Linked DNA regions of Homo sapiens: region 2 is linked to region 1. The links are contacts of gene promoters, found by promoter capture Hi-C in human tissues and cell types (Jung and others, 2019). All regions are on one chromosome and are shown on one strand. Each heading gives the region's core, a stretch centred on a gene start or on the middle of the fragment in contact. The rest is flanking DNA. Distances are from core to core; before and after follow the strand shown. Region 1 holds the start of ARHGAP6 (Rho GTPase activating protein 6). Region 2 overlaps ARHGAP6 (Rho GTPase activating protein 6).

Region 1 (3,516 bases), core at 827-3,326:
TGGCAGACATATTTCAAAATATATTTCATCCAATCGTTACAAACAGCTTAGCAATAGATATTTGAGTTGGAAAAAATATCAACATTGGGTGAAGGGATAAGGTGACCCTTTGAAATTGCCTGCAGCACTAACAGAAAACCAGAACACCATCTCTTTCTCCAGCTCCCACGACTGCTCCAAAGTAGAGCCAACAAGTCCTACAAGACGCACAAGCGGGTGGCCACTAGGGACATCCCATTTCCAGGCACCATTTAGCAAGTAGAAGAGGAAAACCCACACCACGGAAACCCCTTAGTGGGTGCCTTGCTCTGTAAATGTAATGGAATTAAAGGCGGTCTCCTGAAACTGCCTGGGGGCCTCCTCCTTGGGCCGTGGGACGCGCAGCGCTGGTCCCTACCTCGGATTTCCACACGACGTAGGGGTGCCCGCGACTGTCGGGTGGGGACTGGAACTTCCTCTGCTGGAGCCACCTCCTAGGAGAAGCGAAGATGCCATTGGGGCCTCCCCCGGATGAACAGAGGATGCTGGAAGCGCTTCGGCTACTGGCTGGCCCGGCCAGGACAGAAGGCAGGTCCCAGGCCATGCTCTTCTTGAGGCCGCCGCGACCCAGGGGAACCTCATAGTCAAAGTGAAAGCTGCCGGATGGTGACTTCTCCTGCGGGGTGCTGGGTGTGGAGAAGGACGAGCAAAGAGGTCCAGGAGGCGGTAGCCTGGTGGCCCTGGGGGGCGGACCCCGGGAAGAGGACGCCAAGCGAGGGCCGAGACTCTCGGCTGGGAGTGATGGGGAGTAGAGGCGGCCCGCCGTGGCTCCCCGCGCACTGCCCTCCGCGCCCGCCTCGTCGCTCCCGCAGCCGCCGATCAGGGCCGGGTCCAGGCTGCGGGTCTGGCGCAGCTTCCTCTTGGAGAAGCCCTTGGCCGAGGCCGCGCTACTTGAAGCGGGCGAGGAACAGGAGAAGACGCTGTGGAGCAGGCTCTGCGCGGACATCTCGGCGGGGCTGCACCTGAGGACCACCTCCTCCTCCCTCCCTGGACGCTGGTGGCTTTGGGTCGGGAACCGAAAGGGACTCAGGCAAAGGTGCCAGGCGGGGCTGGCCCGGGGTTTGCCCAGGGCAGTGGAGAGCAAAGCCCAGCTCACGCGCCGCCGGTGCGCTCCAAGTGCCCCGGCGGCGGCAGGAGCAGCAGATCCATCACCAGCCTTCTAGGAAAATGGGTCTGGGGACCTCCTGCAGCCGCTAGAACCTTCCTCCGGAGCCCAAGACGCGAAGAGGGTCAGGAAGAGGAGGAGGAAGGTCAGGCGCTCGCTGGGTTCCCAGCTCCAGCCTGCCAGCGCCACTCCCCCTTCCTAGCTGAGGCGGGAGACGCAGCGCTCCTGCTCGCTGGCTCTGGATGGCCTCTAAGACTCCAGCAAGCTCCTCCTTGCGGCCCGAGGACAGTCCCGAGGGCCAGGGAGAAGGCTGCCTGGGCGTGCGCCCAGGGCGCGTCCACCGCGCTCCCGGCGCCGCGAGAACTTCCTCCCGCTCCTGAGCCGGGCGCCTGAGCTGCGCCTCCCTGCACTCTCTCCTTGCCCCGGCGCCCGAGGTTGCGCGCCTGGCCTCCGCTGGGCTGCTGCGCCCACTCTTCCGACTGCAGAGGCTCAAGGGTTGTTCCAAGCTCAAGGTTCCCGCGGGGTCTCTGTCTTGCTGCAGTGTGGGGACACCGAGCGTGCTGCGCCCGGGACCTCCAAAGACTGCGTGCCCACGGTGGGATGGAATTCCCGGCGGCGCTCAGCGCTCTCCGTGGAGGAGGGAGCTCAGGAGACAGCCCCAAGGCCGGGTGTGTGTGTTCCGCCGGAGAGGAACACGCTATTCGCAGCCCAGCCTTGGGCCCAGGGCAGACGCGGAGATGACCCCGTACGCTCGCTCTAGAGGCAGCGGGAAGGGGGCGGCCAGGACGTGTAGAGCTGGAGGAATGCCGGGGCTGGAGCTGGGGCGGAGCCAGGAGCAGGAGAAAGCAGAACGTGAAGAGTTTTCCAGGCGCCAAACCTGCAAGCGGCGAGGAGAGAAGGCAGCTCGCCACTGATACCGGGTCTCCTGGGGAGAAAGTCGTGAGGACGGAAGTGCGGACCTTCTCCCCCGTCTCCCCACCCCCAGATCAAGGGTCGCGCCAGCTCCACTCACGTTTCTGGAAAGGAAGGGAAGTGTCAGATTGCACCCCACCCACTGGTGTCAGATGGGCAGCCGGGGACGATTGCTCTGAAGTTGGAGTTAAATCTCCTGCCTTTTCTCCCCGCGCCCCCCCACCCCGCCCTGTCCCGGCTGTTTTTGTTTTTAAAAAGGAAGGATAGATAGGAAACTGTCTAAAAGCAGTGGCTGCCGATGAATGAGCTGGAGATGGAGACCTACTAAGAAAGTGGAGGGGGAGGAGCCTTTGCCGTGGAAGGGGTCCTGAGCACGTGCGGAAACGTGCTCTAGGAGGAGGGGTGAGTGAGGCCGGGTAGGGGGCAGGCGCCGGGCGCAGCTTCAGCCCAGAGGCTGCAGAGATTGGCGCTCACAAAGCGATCTGTCTCCGCGTCCCGCTCTGGGACGCCTCGGGTCTCAGCGCGGTGGCCACAGTCCTGGGAAGCTGGAGAACGCTGGGGAAATCAATCTTCCCGGCAAGGAGATGAGTCTGAAAGCAGCTTCTCCCGCTGTCGGACCCCTGGAATCTATAAAGCGCAAAGCCTCGCCCTCTTGGAGGGCTTTTTGATGTAACAGTTAAGCTTTGCAATGCAACTTACAACCATCTCAGCAGGGAGCAGACAGAATGTTGGAAATGTCTACTTTGTGTTTGTGTCCTCTTTTATCACTTAGGGATGAAGATAATTTTATATAAATGTAAAGGTGACTCTACCATTTCTTTTATTTTGGAGAAAAAATACAATGAAATTATAAATACAGATGTTGGACACGAACATTCCTCTTGCATATCTACCAGAATTGTCCAAGTTTGATTCTGGAAGACTTCCTTTATTCCCTATGACATATTCAGGGGAAAAGTTAATTTACTTAGACTCTTTGAAAAGCGTGTTTGGTGTTCCTAGGTGTTCAGCTATTTTGGAGGAGGTACGTCATGAAATCTAATTAGGAGAATTCGTTGTCTCCACAAAGGGCGTCGGGCTCCCAGGTCTTGGCTGTACTCGTTTTTTGTAAACGCAGCCGAACAGACTGCACCCTTAGAGATTTTTTTTCCGGTAGCTTTAATGAGCTATCTGCTGTCTGAAGACAGAGTTCGATTCTAGTTTCCCATCCCCCATCGCTGTCCATCTCTTCTCACCCTGAGCTTCTTAAGTATTTTCAGCGGCTGTCAATCAGGTGTGCTGCTGACAGGCACAGTGTTTAAAAAGAGCTCTTGCTCCCCTGCCTAACTACACCCAGGCCAAGTTACATTTGGGGGCTTGTTGGCATTGGCTTTCTTCCCTCCTCATACAAGTCACATTAGAAGTAAAAGTGTGTGGGTCTTGTCTGCCCTTTCTTTAGTAACAAAACTGTAATTTATCAC
Region 2 (3,636 bases), core at 209-2,708, 140 kb before region 1:
ACTTTTGTAAAATGTAATAAAAATAAAATAAATTACTAAAAAGGGGTGGAGGGAAGCACATGAAACACAAGCCCAGTTTTAAAAATTAGGTTCAATAGATATAAAATTATGGTGCCAAATTTCTATAAAAGTTTCTAAATGTTTACTCTTGCTTGATTTGCATATATCCTTACAGACCTGCAAGGACTATCTAAGAATTGGCACTGGTCCGGGGACCATACTTTGAGTAGCATGGATCTAAAGATCATTAAACATGCATTTCACTATTGAAAACATAGGCTCTTGAAATGGAATAATATGATTATTTTAATCAGTGAGTAAACTGACACCTTGTTCTTTTATTAATAAGAGAAGAATAACTCTGATAAGTCAAAGTAATATATGCAGTATGAAAATTTAATGATATTTTCCCCAGTAGATTAAATTTCTAATTATGTGGTATTTAGGCTAATGTTAAAATCTGTATTTTCCTTAGTACACAGGCCATCAACAAGTGGAGGTGTCTGCTCAGGAAATACAACTTATTTCTGTCAAAAATATATTGTGAATAATACAATGTATATGCAGTGTATAATACTCTCCAAAGAAGGACAAAAATCAGGAAAACTACAATAGGTATGGATTTGCCACTTCAGAAAGCCACTGCCTTACCTGGATATGGCTCTCTCAAGTTTACAAGACTGTGGCATTAAACCATACTGTGTCTGAATACCTTTCCCATCCCCATCTACCAAGGAAAATTCTGCTGATCTTACAAGACCCAGATCAAGAGTTACCTCTTGAGTGCATTCTCAACATTCATTCATCCATTCATTCGTCATTCACACTCATCCATCCAACAAAAGTGTATTGCCTACCCTACAATATGCCAAGCTGGAGATGGCACATGGTGGTGTAGGTGCTACAGATACAACATTGAACAAACCATGGTTCCTACCTTTTTAGAGTTTGTGTTCTAATGGTGAGAAAGGAGAGAAAAACAAATTAAATATATTCATAATATTGTGTTTGGTAAGTGAAAACTGTTATAAAGCAAAGTAAAACACGGACTCAACTTGCTATCTTCATCTAAACCACAGAACACAGAAAGTACTTTGACAGACTATATTCTCAATTTTCCCAAGGATGATGCACAGCTATTACCATTCTCGATACATACGAGAGAAGTTAATTCATTGCATACAATGGATGCCTTAGGGAATGACATCTTAATTTGCAGACTGAGAGAGGGTGAAATAGAGAGTAACTGAGGTGCTATTTTAGATAATGTACTCTGAGTGGCCTCTGTAAGAATTGTACAAGGGAGCAGAGATCTTTTTTTAAAAATCCTTGAGCATGAGCCATGTGGATAACTAAGGGAAAAACACTTCAGGCAAGAAAACGAAATTCAAATTCCCCAAAACATAGAGAACTTGTTGAGTCTGAGGAACAGCTGGGGGAGGCCTATGTAACTGGAATGGAATGAGTGAAGTGCCAAGTACTGGGAGAAAAGGACAGCAGGTCAGGGTTGTCAGTAGAGGGTGCTCCTACCAAGCCTTATTAGACTGTCACTTTGCAGTTCAATTATAGCATAATCATACTATTTTTCTTCAGTTAGCAATAGGTTGTTTGAAGGCAGAATCTGTGTGACGGTCATTTTGTATTTCGACATCCAGCACTGCAACACGTTAAGGCTTAAATGTGTGACTGAACAAGTGAATGGATAGATGAATGAATTAATATATTCATACAGGGCTTTCACAAACAATATTCATTAATTATCTGCCATCCTTCCAGGAGGCGGATCTAGTCTTACTGCATCTAATTTACATATAAAAAATCTAGGATGTTCATCAACTTGCCTGCAGGTACAGAATTGCTAAGATCTAGGAAAAAGGACCTTCCAAATTCAGATGTTTGACTCTTAGTTTAATGCCCTTCGTATATATTGAGCTTCCAATTATGGTTAATAGAATGGACAGAAGTAAGTTTTTTAAAAAATCACTGTATATCACAATACTTTCTGAAAATGGTAGATGCAAATGTAAAAGTTTACATTGTTTTTAGAGTGGGGACTGGCTGCCCTCTCCTGGAAATATGAAAAAATCCCATGAAGCAAAACCCATTTCTCTAGTCAATCTAAGACATTCCTCCACCCACCCACTCACCTTACCCCTCTTCCCCATCTCTCTGTTTCCTTTCTTTCCTAAACTTTTCTTTCATGTTTGTCAACCTAGATTAATGACAGGGGGTTCTTTTTTTTTTTGGCTGTAAGATTTATTTTTAAAACCTGAACTGCATCAGATACATAATACCCATTTGTTTGCAAGTTGTTGCTTTAAAATTTATTATAATCCATAGCTATCCCAAGCTTTGAGCTTCAGTTCACATTCCCTTTATATCCTCATTTTCTCCAAAATCCAGACAGCTGCCTGGGGTCCCAGCTATTACAGTCAAAACTATCGGTGATTACAGAGATGAAGAAACGTGGTTTCTCTTATTAGCTCAGTACACTTATTCTTACAACTCAAAGTGTGTTCCACAGTCCAGCAACATCAGCATAACCAGTATTAAAAATTCTGAAGCTCAGGCCCCATTGTGCTGGTAATATTTACCAGACAATTACATGCACATTCTCATTTGAGGAGCTCTGCTCCAAGGATGCTATTGAGGCATTGGTGCTACACTGAGCTGGGGTTCGAAGTCTCCTTTGTTTTCAACCATGTGGGTGGAGGTTAGAGAAAGATTTGTTGAACACACAACACTGTAGCCACAATCTCTAATACAGTTCATGGTATTTCTTTAAAAATACAATTCCATTCATTCATTATTAACTGATGCCATTTCTTATGTTCATCATAATCACTTTATACATACGTACCGAGTTTAAAGACAAGGTCTTAAAGTGGATATGTTCACGAACATGTGCGTGTAATGATAAATACCAAGGGAACATGGCTAAGAAATGGCATCAACTGATAAAGAATAAATGAATGAATAACAAAATTTTATTTTTAAAGTAACAGGGTGGACTGTGTTAGAGACTGTGGGTACACTGCTATGTGTTCACCAAAACCTATTCCCTCTCCACCCTGTCTGTGATCATGTGACTGTGTTCTGGCCAATGGGATGGTGCTTGACTGATTACAGGCTGGCCTAGAAAAAAACTTCCCATGCAAGATCCTTTCTCCAGCCTCTGGCTGGAAGTAAGGATTCCAAAGCCCTAGGGCAAGTGTTAACAAACTGGTTTTGCACTGCCTGTGAGCTAATCATGTTTTTTACATTTTTATGGTTGAAGAAAAATTAAAAAGAAGACTATTTCATGAAAAACCTATCAAATTCCAATCTCAGCATTAAAGATAAACTTTTATTGGAATACAGCCACACTCATTCATTTACATATTGTATACAGCTGCTTTCACACTACAAAGGCAAAGCTGAGTAGTTTTGACACAGACCAGAAAGTCCACAAAGCCTAAAATATTTCCCATCTGGCCATTAACAGAAACAGTTTGCTGATCTCTGCCCTAAAGTCTGGCTGAACTACAAGATGGGAGGAGCATGGATCCCCAAGTCACTACAAGGAAGGCTGTCCACCAAATATCCTCATTGGACTCTTACATAAGAGAGAAACAAACTTGCAGTTTCAAAATTTCA

The links. Contacts are between HindIII fragments. The study calls those that stand out against the background at their distance.
Region 2: a fragment that was not itself captured here is called in contact with the fragment with the promoter of ARHGAP6 in region 1 in 1 of the 25 tissues and cell types used here (pancreas).

Annotation. Positions count from the first base shown.
Region 1 is chrX:11,663,844-11,667,359 of GRCh38, forward strand. It overlaps ARHGAP6 (Rho GTPase activating protein 6), which reads right to left and starts at 2,077. Exons shown (of 13, transcript NM_013427.3): 1 at 398-2,077. The coding sequence starts at 985. The HindIII fragment of the contact is 7,841 bases long and covers 1-3,516 here.
Region 2 is chrX:11,529,364-11,532,999 of GRCh38, forward strand. The region is part of intron 1 of ARHGAP6 (Rho GTPase activating protein 6); the gene reads right to left. Among named protein-coding and RNA genes, the nearest start is that of ARHGAP6, 130 kb to the right of the region's middle. The HindIII fragment of the contact is 5,607 bases long and covers 1-3,636 here.